Regions from separate parts of the Homo sapiens genome. Here region 2 is linked to region 1. Evidence: promoter capture Hi-C in human tissues and cell types (Jung and others, 2019). All regions are on one chromosome and are shown on one strand. The core of a region is centred on a gene start or on the middle of the fragment in contact, and the rest is flanking DNA. Distances in the headings are between cores, read along the strand shown. Region 1 holds the start of NLGN1 (neuroligin 1). Region 2 overlaps NLGN1 (neuroligin 1).

Evidence for each region. The method cuts DNA at HindIII sites, captures the fragments that hold promoters and counts their contacts. A contact is called where the count stands out against the background at its distance.
Region 2: a fragment that was not itself captured here is called in contact with the fragment with the promoter of NLGN1 in region 1 in 1 of the 25 tissues and cell types used here (dorsolateral prefrontal cortex).

The regions. Positions count from the first base shown.
Region 1 is chr3:173,394,580-173,401,376 of GRCh38, reverse strand. It overlaps NLGN1 (neuroligin 1), which reads right to left and starts at 3,633. Exons shown (of 7, transcript NM_001365925.2): 1 at 3,314-3,633. RefSeq lists an enhancer at 4,865-5,364 and silencers at 5,590-5,679, 5,700-5,779. The HindIII fragment of the contact is 5,603 bases long and covers 1,245-6,797 here.
Region 2 is chr3:173,575,239-173,581,784 of GRCh38, reverse strand. All of the region lies in intron 1 of NLGN1 (neuroligin 1), which reads right to left. Among named protein-coding and RNA genes, the nearest start is that of NLGN1, 180 kb to the right of the region's middle. The HindIII fragment of the contact is 4,311 bases long and covers 1,914-6,224 here.

The DNA.
Region 1 (6,797 bases), core at 2,384-4,883:
AAAAAAAACAGGGGTAGGGAAGAGTAGGAAACAGAGAATTTCCTTCCTTCTGATCTCAGAGCAAAACTTCTGAGCCTGGGACAATCTGACCTCTTAGAGACATTTGGCAATGTCTGGAGATACTTGGATAGTCATGATGAGGTGGGGGTGGGGTGCACTACCAGCATCTGGTGGATAGAGGCCAAGGATGATGCTACACATCCCTATAATGTACAGTACACTCCCCCATAACAAAGACAAATAATTATCCAGCCCACAATGACAACAGTGTCAAAGCTGAGAAACCCTGAGGTAGAATACTGTTATCTTCTTCTCCCCCATTTTGGGCCCCAAAGACAGACACGAGTTTGGAGGCACATCAGTGACCTTGTGCCCATGAGAAGAAAGGTTTCGAGATAATAGAAGAAGCCTGATAAAATGCTTAAGCAACTCTCTTCTCCTGACTTTTTATTATGTGAGATAAATAAAGCTTTATTTGCTTAATCCACGGTTAGCCAAGTTTTCTGTTACTTCATAGCCAAATATATTTATAAATAATACATTTACTATTCATTTATGGTAGACTCTATGTTCAGACATAAAGGTAAGCTATCATTTCCGAATGACATGATAAATCAGGCATGTCTTTTGATCTCTGGCAATTCACTGTGCAGTGAGAAAGCCAACCATTAGAAGTGTGAAAGGTGGGCTACTCCCAGTATAAATACTGTGTTGTGGGAGCTCAGAGTAAGGGTACAGGAAGGAAGCATCATGATGAAGGAAAGACCACCCAAGGAACTAAAATGTTTTTCTGTCCTATCATTGGTGTATATTTGGTGGGGTGGGGTAGAGGGGCAGGGAATGGATCAATGAAGAAAGATTAGCATAAGCAAACCACAAAATCCTAAAATGGTATGTAGTGTTGGGGAAAATAGTAATTAAGAGTCTTGTGAATGGACTAAAGAGTGAATTCAGAAGGGGGGCCAGGAGGACAGTGTTTTAATCTACATAAGGAGGTTTAAGAATGAATTGTGAAAAGCATTGAGTGGCATTAGGGTTGTGGACTTTGGCATGTAATAATCTATAAGGAGCCACTGGCCAATGTTAATAAGATCATACCTATATTTCAGAAATAATAATAATAATATTAAGTCTAGAAGACTGGACTTTGGTGATTTCATTTACAGATAATTAAAACATAACTGAAAAATCATATCTTCCTATTGACAATCCAGTAAGATGGAAACCGACTGCAAACTTCACTTCAAAAACTAAGCCTTTAAAATGTGGCAAAGGTATATGTTACACAGCTGCAGTTTCTAATACTACTGTTACTTTTAACTGTGTTTTGCTTACAAAAACTACAAATTAGTATTTGTTAGGTAATTTGTGAAATAACTCCTTTGTGTAAAAATAATAAAGAATTATCAAGATAAACCATTACTATGTTAAAAACTGTTTCAATACATGAAAACCCAGAGAGATACGTCACTCAAAGCTATATCTGTATTAATATTGTCTCACAAAAAGTTGTCAATAGCATTAAAATGTATGTGAAAAATTTTATAAAAAACTCAGATCTCAGATTTATAACTGTATTTTATAGTTCTAGCTACTTAATTATCCTATAAAGAAAACCAGAAACAGCTAGTTTAATGTAATTTGAAGGGATATGTAGATCTTGGCACTGGATAACCATGTGAAAATAGTAAAAGCAGAATAAAATATAAGAATTTCAGAGTTGGAAGAGACTTTGGAGAGTGATCCAAGAAAGTCATCCAGGAATGCATAGGGTCATCAGGCCTTCCAACACCCTGCAAATGAAACCAATGGAGTTCTCAGCCTACCTTCTTTAAGTGTATATTTCACCTTCAACTTCAAAGCCATTCAAACATTTACATTTGAAAATATGTTATTACTAAATGTAAGTGGAAAATTTCACAAAATAAAACTATACTGAGGGAATAAAGAAAAGATTGACAGCAAGTACTTTGGGGGTGGAAGAAGGGAGACAATGGGAAGGACGGGAACTAAAGAAGCTTTTCTTACTCCACACTACTGGAACTCTAGTAGAATCTGCTGAAAGATTGACTCCCTCAATTTCTGCTTATGTTAAGAGGATTGGGAAGACTAACTGCAGAATAGCAGGCTTACAGAAAACAGTTACTTCTTTTAATCAAACCATGTAATCAGAAGGCCTGAGTAATGATTAACTTCCACTTTCTCTGTGAATCACTCAATCACTCTGCAGTGCAAGTAGACTTAGATTCATTCTCTGCCAAAGGCACAGTAAATTTAATGTTTTTGCATTTAACATTTAATATTTTAAATATATGAATGGCCCTTGCTTCTGAGCTCATTTCAAAAACCTTGTGTTCTGCTAGGTTACAATGGCTGATAGAAATGCTGAGACATTTTATAGGTTTTACACTCAAACATAGGTACACATACCCTTTCTCAGTGACATTTTAATATCTATGATCCTATTAATAATTGAGCACAATTAATGGTGAGAAATGCATTAAGACCCTGTAATTTTCATGTACAGCATGACAACTCAATTGACTTAAGCAAAAATAGTCTACCGGAGTTTGAGTATAAAAAGAGGGAAAATGAGTATATTAACTACCTGTAAAAATGCAGAGTAACAGATACTGGGTTAACTATACGAATTCACGTTTCCCAAGTGTTATATGTATCACTATGGCCCTGGAAATGCAAAAAGAAATAGTACCTTTGTGGAGGCCAACTGTTCATGATTTAGAATTATCACAAATGAATCAAATATTGGACATGTAATATCCCTCATCTCTATAACACACTAACAACCTCCTCTGGAAGAAATTATTCCCAATGCAAAATCTCAACCTAAATAATTTTAAATTCAGGTGGTTTTTCATTTCTACTCACAAGGCATTGTGTTGAGGCGGGCAGGAGTCGGTGGAGAACGGTTTAAATGTTTGGAATACCTTCTCTTCCCAGGAGAGTTTATTGCCCAATAATGCATAATATATTAGTTGCTCAACGCGGGGGATCTAGGGAGTGACATCTTGACTGGAAACACACAGATCTGAAAACCACCTCTCAGGAAACGTTGTGGGGAAGAAGAGCAACTTTCTTATCCCTGTCAAACTAACCGGCGGAACCAACCCCAGAACTAGCCGGAGGGCCTGGGGAGAGCAGAAGGCTGAAAGCAGCTCCTCTGCGCTCCGCCGAGGGTTCAGGCAAGGGTTTTCTTCTGGAGGCGGCATTGTTCCTCCATCTGCTCAGCCTCCGTATTTCGCCAGGAAACCCTCCCCGCTTTCTCGTAATCTGTTCCTTATTTCTTTTGTACCTCTCAGCCGATTTCCATGCTCTTGGTCTCTGTGGTCCCAGGGCACAGCTCTAGGGTGAAGAGCTGCAGTGACTGGGGCGCCGCTCTAAGGCTTTGGAGGCGACTGCACTCCGCCCGGGCTCTGGCAGCGTGAGCGCCGCACAGTCGCTCGCTCCCTTCTCTCCGGTCTCTCCGGCTCGGACGGGCTCTCCCGGCCTCTCATCACCCACTCCGACTCGCCTTTCCTGCCGTGTCTCCCCACGCCAGCTCCGCGCGCTCGGCGCTGGCCGCCCGGGCGCGCTCTCCGCGCCGCCGCCTGATCCTCGGCTTACAGCCGCGGCGCTCCCCCGCCCGCCCACAGGCCGGGACTCCGAATTGAAGGGTCAACCCTCCGCGGGGAGGCGGGGAGGAGCGGCGAGGAGAGCTGGGGCAAGTGGGGAGCCGCGGGTGGGGGGACTGACGGGGGAACGGGAGAGTGAGGCCAAGAAGAAAGAAGATGCATCTGCTCCGAAGACGCCAATGAAGAAAGGACAGAGGGGGCAGGAGTGGAGTGGGGGAGAGAACGCCCACCAGGAGGGTGGGCAAAACGGGCAATTTACAAACTGCCGGGGCTGGAGATGCCGCGCGGAGGAGGAAAGAGGTTAGCGGCACAGAAGAAGAAATGAGGGGAAGTTCCCACATCTCCCCAAAAGGTCACGTTTGAAAACCGTGTCCCTTGAACGGGAGTTAAACAAGCGACTGGCCATGGTGTAAAAGGTGGATTTAAAAGGAAATTTAGTGTCATGTACTTATTTAGACACGGCTTCGTCTCGCTCAACTCTGGCAAATTACCCTCCAAGTAAAATGTATTGGTTTTATGCAGAAACGGAAGGCGAATCTCCTCCACTGTGGACTCCTCCTGAGATTGGTTTGTTTGCTGGTTATCTTTCTTTTTAAATGAAAAAAAGCGTTTGGGAGCTTCCATGAACCCCAACGCTTAAAAAAAACCACCCAGTTTATTAAAGTTCATTATTTTTTATTGCTTTTATTTTCATCAGAGGATAGGGTGAGGGACTGGCATCTTCAGATGTTTAAAACACTTATTTAGGTAGCATTATTTTTTATAAAGGACACGATTTCCTAAAACCGCCAGAAAGGCTATTGGAAAACTCAGCTACTAGCCTGGGAAAGAGAGACGCATTTAAACTCAAATAGACGATTATACCTCCAGCACCCCCCACCCCCACCCCAATGGGATTGGAAAAGGGTTGAGTTTACAGAAGAGAGAGAGCAGAGAAGGGTGGGTGGAAGGTGGGGAAGGCGAAGGAGAGGCAGGGAATAGGAAGTTCTCGGCAATCCCCGGGATTAAGGTAAACGCCGGAGCTCGGCGGACGCAGGAAGCTCCCTTACCTTTCTCTCTAAGCCCCGTTTGCACCTGATCTGCAACCATAAATACTTCGTGGTGCTTAGTGTGCAGCCAAACGATGGCCAAATGTTAAACAATTCTTCACGCTCCCTCCCCCTTTTAAAAAACAGGCTCAAAAGAATGTTAATAGTGTTCTTGTTATCCATCGGCTCCAAAACATTCCGTTTCGTGGGGAGGAGAGACGAAAACCAGGCCCTTGGGCACGCGTATATGTATTTATATATTATGCGGTCGGTATATAAACATATATACGTTTCCTGCATGTAAATCCAAAATGAAAAGCACCACAGATGCTTCTGTAAACGGGAGGGGACAGCGAAGAGCAAAACTTGGCAAGCCAAATGTATCCAGAGATTTCGTACCAGGAGCCACCTGCTTCAATATGCAGAATTTCCGAGAAGATTTAGAGGGAGAAGGAAAAAAATTAAAAATAAAATACCCAAAACACACACTTGAAACTGGAAGACACCTATGAAGCTTGGAAATGGAGAGGATGAGAAGATCTCCCGGGGCTACAGATCCTCAGCTAAGTGAGCAATCGCCTCCGAAAATCATAGGCGGGGAGGTGGCTGCAGATGCGTCCCCTGCTCCGGTCCCCGCCGCCGCCGCCGCCGCCGCCACTGCTACCTGTAGACACGCACACACACACGTACACGCGCGCACACACACTGCCACCTTCTCTCTCTCCCTCTCCCCTCACTCCGTGGCGTTGTCGGGTGCAGGAGTCTGAATCAAGCCAGACCATCCTCCAGACCCAATCCTGCCCCCCTCAGAGCCAGGACTCCCTCCGCTGCCTCCCTCTCCCCGCCCGGTTTATTGCACAGCGTCCCCTCCCCTGCGCGCCCCTCCCGCCGGTCGGAGGCGCGATCTTGGTGGGGGTGGGCTTCGGGGGCGCGGGTCCGGCGGTGGCAGACTTGGTGCTGGTGATGGCCCCTCCCTTTACAAGTTCCGCCCTCCTCCCTTACTCCTCCCGCGGCAGCCGAGCGTCCTCCGCCCGCAGCTTCCGCAGCGCCCGCGGCGGCAGGAGGGGTGAAGGGCCCAGGGAGTCACGTGTGAGGTTCGCCAAACCACTCAGAGCGGCGTGTGAGTGAACGGGCACGACCGCCCAGACGCGAGGCGTCGGACGCTCTGAGTTTCTGTCTTCTCGGCGTCATCGTGCTCCGGTTCCAGGCGTTTTCGTCTTGGTGACGGAGAGCGCGGAGTTGGAGGCAACAGCCTTCCACTGTGCCTCTTCTTTCCCCCGCCCCCCTCTTTTTGGTAAATCTCTAGCCACCAAACTCCCCTCTCTTTCCTCTGCTTCCTCTAGCTAGAGGCAGAGTAATCTCTGAATTGAAGCGTTCGTTGGCTGTAGACTGTTCCGTGCGAGTAGTGTGAACGCAACGCCACTGCCTTTGGCCTCTTCCTCCTGGCTGTGCCCACAGCTTCTGCCGCTGGATAGGTGATTTTAAAAAAATCACAGCTAATCATTGTTGGCTTTTGTGACGGGTGTGACTCACTGTAGCACATTGTTTACACCTACCCGCTTCCCACTAGCCTCTCTGTGTGAATTTTTAAATGTAAGTAAGTTGGAAGATAGGGCGGTGCCTACAGAACCACTAAGTTAACTGATTGCCACCTGTAATAATCGTAACCCCAAAAGGAAAACCTAGCAGTAGAAAAATCGCTAGAAGTGACACGTGAACTAGAGATATGTTTTTTCTCACCATTTAAGAGCTTGCTTCATATTTCTCAATCTCATGTATGCTTTAATCTCCACAATTCAAGTAAAAGAAAGGAACTTTAACATTTACACTGCAATGGCCCCTATCACTCACTCATTAATTAATAACAGTAAGTAAGAAACCAAGGTTCTACCATTTCCGCTCTGATTTTTAAAAAAACAGTCTTAAATATGACATGTTCCTTTGGCTTAGAGGAAATTCAGTACCACATTGTCTTGATGTCGTTTTAGAATCCAGTCTATCTTGTCATGTTTTTCTTTTTTTAAAAGTAAATTTTAGGCTATATGTTGACAAATCCAGCAGATTTCGGTAATGCTCCCAAGAAAGTGAAGTTTCTTTCTACTAAAACATGCATCTGATTCTTGGTAACAGGTGTACC
Region 2 (6,546 bases), core at 2,820-5,319, 180 kb before region 1:
AATCTTTACCATATTATAAAATTTTCTAATTAAGTCTGAAAAAATGAAATATCAATATTTCATAATGTGCTTTTTATATGGAGATTTTTTTAAAAAACTGTACTACTAAATATTTCTAAGAAGTGTAAATGGAATGGTGCTTATTTACTTCTATAATTGATATTAGAAATTCTAGCTAGGAAGCAAAAATTACCACCTAAATGGGAAAATATGGTTGAAATTGAAAAAAATATATATGTAATCCTCAACTAGCTCTTTCTTGTATTTTCCTTTGATCTCACAAATAGTAACAGGGCCTCTGAAATTGTGAAACAGTCAATCAACTGATTGATCATGTTCAGTCTGACCAGTTAACTAAAAACTACCAAAGCCAGAGTAGCCATAAGCTGAAATTACAACATGAAAGAAAACTCACCCAGAGTATTTAAAATATGTATGTGAATTCAAATAAGAAGACTTTGTTGATATGAAATATGGGGACTGGAAATCTCATTTCACAATCACTAGGCATTATATTTCATAATCCATGCAAAAGAGATACCAAATATTAGAAAAGGCATTTTTTATAACTCAATTGAGCAGTTAATACTATTCAATGCACCCTGGACTCAGGAAAAATGCTTGAGTTAATTGTCAAACAATCAATTTTCAACTATTCTGAATAGATTTCCTGGAAATAACCAAAACAGATTTGTGATAAGGAAATAGTGATATGCCAATTTAATTTCCTTTGATAATAGAAAGATAAGGGAGAAGAAGCAGATGTACCATTATATTTCTGAAATTTGGAGAGGCTGACATTCTTTCAGCAAACACTTATTGAATACCTCCTGTATACTGGGCATAATCCAAAGTATATCATAGGAGAGTTGACTTTAAAACAGCCAACTACCACAAATCCTTAGTTTCCTATTGATGATTTATTTGTTGAGTGCAAATGGCTATTACTATTATCAATTAATATTTCAGCATCCATACTGAACAAGTATTAGATATTAATATAGAACTGAAGGTTCATTTTTCAGTATGTTTAAGTGTAAAATGAGTTCACAGAGTAAGGTAGTCAATGAAGAAAGAGGAGTAAAAGGAGAAGTGAAAGGAGAAGGAGGGATAGAGGAAAGGTGTTTGAGAATAAAAATGTGAATCAAATTCATTTATCTCCCTGGTGATTTACTGACAGAGAGGATAGAAACATACTTAATATTTGTATCCTTCATGATACAAATTATTAGTAAATGACTGACTTAATAGATCAAACAATAAAACTAGTTGCTATATGAAGAGAATAAATTCTCTAATGAAGAGAATCTCTTCATTAGATGGGCTTGCTAATTTCTTCAGAAAATGAAATCAATACAGGAGGAAAGTAAAAATTAGTATGAATAATAATAATGGAAATAAAAGACCAAGATTGGTAAACCTGAGCACTATAGGGCATTCCAATTTAACCGTGTTATTAAAATTTCAGCTCTGATAAAAAACATCTTAGAATTACATATCTTATTTTGGTTTCTATACCAAATAGAAAATGATGGATTGATTAATACCAAATGGATCATGTGAGGAAGCAGCATAGTTTTCATAACAAATAGAGGAGTAAGTATTTCATTGTTGCTTTTAATACAAAAGAGTTATTTTGAGAAAAGGTGGGGTTTTTTTTGAAAAATCATATAAATGCACATCTTTTATGACCAGGTCAAATCAATTCAGCTCTGGCTTGTGATAAACGTTTTAGGATGTTGTGAAAGATAGCAGCTCAGTGTCTGAAAAAGAAGAAATAACCGAAATATTTCATGTACCCCATAAACATATATACCTACTATATACCCACAACAATTTTTTAAAAATAATTTTAAAAATTCTGAAGCTAGAAATAAAATAAAACAGAATTGTAAAGCAAGTCTGGAGAAAAAAAAATCCTCTACCATCTTCAGAACTCCCCTGATGTAACCTCATATTAAGTGCTCAAGACTTGAATCTAAATGAATGGCAATTGGGAATTATGAAAGAAACAAAAATAAAAAGTGGTGCAACATTGTAAGTTCTAACTACTGCAAAGGTGACTGTTTACAAAGAGGTTCTTTCTACGGGGAAGAATCTACTCCCACAATCCTGCTTAATTAGAAAAGACTACTTAAAATGCTTGACTGGTACTGACTATATTTCAGATACGTATTGGGAGAACACACCTGCCTGGATGCTAAATATACCAGATGTATCTTTATATTTCATGGAATAGAGATTGGTAATGGAAACTAAGGAAGTGATGATCAAGACTAGACATTTTGTTTGTTTGTTTATTTATCTTGAGACCTGGTCTCACTGTCTTGCCCAGGCTGGAGTGCAGAGGCACGATCATGGCTCACTGCGGCCTCAAACTCCCCGGGCTCAGGTGATCCTCCCATGTCAGCCTCCTGAGTAGCTGAGAATACCGGCGCCATGCCATCACATCAGGCTAATTTTTGTATTTTTTTCTAGAGACAAGGATTCACTATGTTGCCCAGGCTAGCCTTGAACTTCCGAGCCCAAGCAATCTGCCCACCTTGGCTGTGCTGGGATTACAGGCATAGCCACTGCGACTACCCAAGACTAGATATTTTAGCATGAGACTGCCACTTTTGAAATGGGGCTTTTTCATCAATGTTGGTTAGAGATGCTAAAAGATATTTACAGAGGGACTCTTAAAAGGGTTTAAATCAGAAATAAATCCAGATTTTCAAAACAGACTTGAATAATTCTGACTTGTTAAAAACTTTCAAATAATGGTGCCATTAGGCTAATAATTAAGATTCTGTTTTCTTTTAGAAAAAGGTCTTTTTTACATCTATAATTTATACATTTATTTAATTGGTAAAATTGAAAAATATAGAAATTTCCAATTTCAAATGTTTTAGCTAATAATAGCATGATGCATTATTTTGCAGAATATTTTCTTCATTTTTGAATGTAAGTACATTTGTGAGGCAGTATTTACGCTGACCCTCTAATAACCTCAGAGCAGGTTCTCTTGATATTTTGGTGGCTTTTAATTCCATAGTACCATGATTGATTTTGACATTGCAATGTAGTATAGAATGAGTTAAATTGTATAAAATTATCTTAGATGTTTCTTAAGTACTGAAAAAACACAATCAGGAAACCATCTTATTAAATATCATCTATTAATGCTTATTGTAAAATATTAGTTTATTTGAGTCTATGTTTCCAGTATTAGCAGAATATACTATAAAGTTTGACCTAATAGGATGGGAAACCACATGAAAATTAATGTTCTATAGTTCGAGATGGAAAGAGAAATTTTTAGTTATATCCCAGTGGTATTGACATCTCATTGACTTCACAGACAAGAGTTGGGTACTCTTTTTTTGGATAGGATTTTATGCTAATTACATAATTAAAAGTAAACACTAGCCTGAATTTTCATTATTGTTCAATTAGCAACTTAATGAGCATCTTCTACCTGTCCCAAAATATTTAGTTCCATGATTTCCAAAATATTAAATAAAGGAACCCTTAAAATTACATCTTCTTCTTCTTTTTTTTTTTTTTGAGACGGAGTCTGGCCCTGTCGCCCAGGCTGGAGTGCAGTGGTGCGATCTCAGCTCACTGCAAACTCCGCCTCCCGGGTTCATGCCATTCTCCTGCCTCAGCCTCCCGAGTAGCTGGGACTACAGGTGCCTGCCACCACGCCCAGCTAATTTTTTGTATTTTTAGCAGAGGCAGGGTTTCACAATGTTAGCCAGGATGGTATTGATCTCCTGACCTCGTGATCCACCTGCCTCAGCCTCCCAAAGTGCTGGGATTACAGGCGTGAGCGACCGCATCCGGCCTAAAATGACATCTTCTAAAGGAATGGTTATTTCTCTGTCTTCTTGTCTCTCTGTCTCTATCTATCTGTCTATATATCTGTCTATCTATCCATCTATCACCTATCTATCTACACATTAATCTGTCCCTTTAAGCTTTGATTACTTACAAGAAACTGAGAAAATATGTCACAAGTTTTTCAAAGATGATATATTTTTCTAAGATCATGTGTGTTTGGTTTTAGAGTTTGTTTTTGCTTGTATGTGAATAAAATTATTTCTGATGACCTAGAAACAAGCAGAATGATTTAGTTAAACAGAATGACAAAACTATGTTACATTCAATGCATAAGAAATTGTTCAACCTTCCAACCATCATAAAATTCATGACTCTCAGCCTTTTCTTGTGTCCTCTTCTATAAAAGTTTCCCAAACCTTCCCTAGTGATAAACAAGCTAACAAATGGTGGATTTGTTACAAAAGAAAACAATTAAATTTTGACCCTTTATTTATAAATTGTACTAGGAGGAAGGGAGAGAAGGAAAGCAGGACATGGTAATATTTCAGACATAGTTGTTTACATAGATGAAGCAGAAAAGGCAATGTGAAGAAAGTTCAAAGCATGATTTGTTACATCACAAAATAGACTATGAGGATAGATGGTTTATGTGATAACAGAAAGTATACTCATTATTTGATAGAATGAGAATATAATTCTTGGCTTATGTGTAATACATTAAACCAACTCACAATTCACATCCTCATCATTCATAAGTCTGGTGAAGCTAGAAGATATATCTTATAGCTGAAATTCATCATACAAGGACTCAAACTAATCATTAAAACAACTACAGTATATTTGAACAGTGGCCCAAAGAACTGCAGTTTTAAAGTTCCTTCATAGACTCACAGACTCCTTTTGCTAAACAGAAAAAAGCACAAGAAGATAAATGACTTAACTAAGATCACGTTGAGGTCAGCAGCATCGCCCAGATGAGAAGCTGTTGTGCCATGCCACACCTGACTCGATGTTTCTTATGATTGTTTTTTGGTATTACCGTTTCGTTGATCTTAAAATATTGGACCACAAGCAAAATTTAAAAATTGAAATTAACAAATCAAGAAAGAATAGCATTAAATATACTTAATACGGTAATTGGAATAATACCCTCCACCACCCTCCCCCGCCACAGATGTCTTAATTCCTGGAATCTGTGCATATGCCACTTTATATGGCAAAAGAGACTTTGCAAATGTGATTAAATTGAGGATCTTGAGATGGAGAGATTACTCTGGGTTATCTAGATGGGTACCAAGTAATCACAAGGGTTTTTATTAGAGGAAGGCAGAGGGTTCAGGGGTCAGAATAAGAGTAAGAGATGTGATAACAGAAACAGAGATGAGGGAGAAAGAGAGAGTCAGGTAGATTTGAAGATGCTACACTCTTAGCTTAGAAGACGAAAGAAGGAGCTACAAGCCAGGGAAAACAGGTGGTCTCTAGGCAAGAAAACGGAATTTTTTCTAGAACTTCCAAAAAGAACACAGGCTTTGCCAATCATTTTAGGTTTCTGACATCCTAAACTGTAAGATAATAAATTTGTGTTGTTTTTAGCCATTAAATTTGTGGGAATTTGTTATAGCTACAATAGAAAACTAATACACTTATTTAAAAATATTAAAGATATTAAAAATATTATGGAAATAATCAGTGCTGCCCATAGAAACATAATGTGAACCACACAGGAAATTTTAAATTTCCTAGCATCCACATTAAAAAATGAAGAATCAAGTTAAATTAAATTTAATACTGTATTATATGTAGCCCAATATGTCAAAATATTATCACTTCAACATATAATCAATATGAAAGACTATTATTGAGAAATTTAATTGCTTCCATATAAATATATTCAAAATCCAATGTGTATATTATATTTAGAGTACATCTCAACTTGGAATAATTCCTTTTCAATAGCTCAATGGCCACATAAGGCTAGTGACTACCATAAAGGATAGTGCAGCTTTAGATTATAAGAAACAAGTTAAAAAGAAAATTTTATATATTATTCCATATCATTCTAAAGCTCTGTCACAATCTAGATAAAGGATCACAAAGGCTTCTACAAATTATCAGGATGGTTTTACAGGCAAGTTTCTGAAAACTTTGTATTTGAGAATTATATTTAAAAAGAAAGATCTGAAAAGAAACGAAACTTAAAAACAACATGAAAGAAGAGTATGATTACCTAATGATACTGATACTGAGTTGACTGACGTTTGTAAAAATGCCAGCAATAATAGAAAGAAATTTATGTGGTATTTTTAGAAGAAAATGACAGCCAAGGATGGGATCAGAATAAGATTGCTTGGAGCCAACTATATAATATGAACAAATGACCAAGAGAAAAGCAAAACTATTAAATCTCAGCTCCAATTGCTTCATAGGGAAGAATGGTGTTTGAACTGGAAAAGAATATGATGGTGAAGAAATAAGAATGCCTGAAGGTAACTTAAATTTGTTTTAAGATTTCAGGTCCAAATTTGTTACCTAATTTAGAATACCAAAAGTACGTGAAGAAGTGTTCTTGGAACTAATATCTATTATTTTTAAGTCACCATGAAAAAGTGCCATGAAAATTAACTGTCCTGGTTTTCAAACAAGATTCCATAAACTGAAGTTTACCAATCTTGACATTAACTGAAATTCTAAAACTGATGCTCATATGTGTTTGCTAAGTGT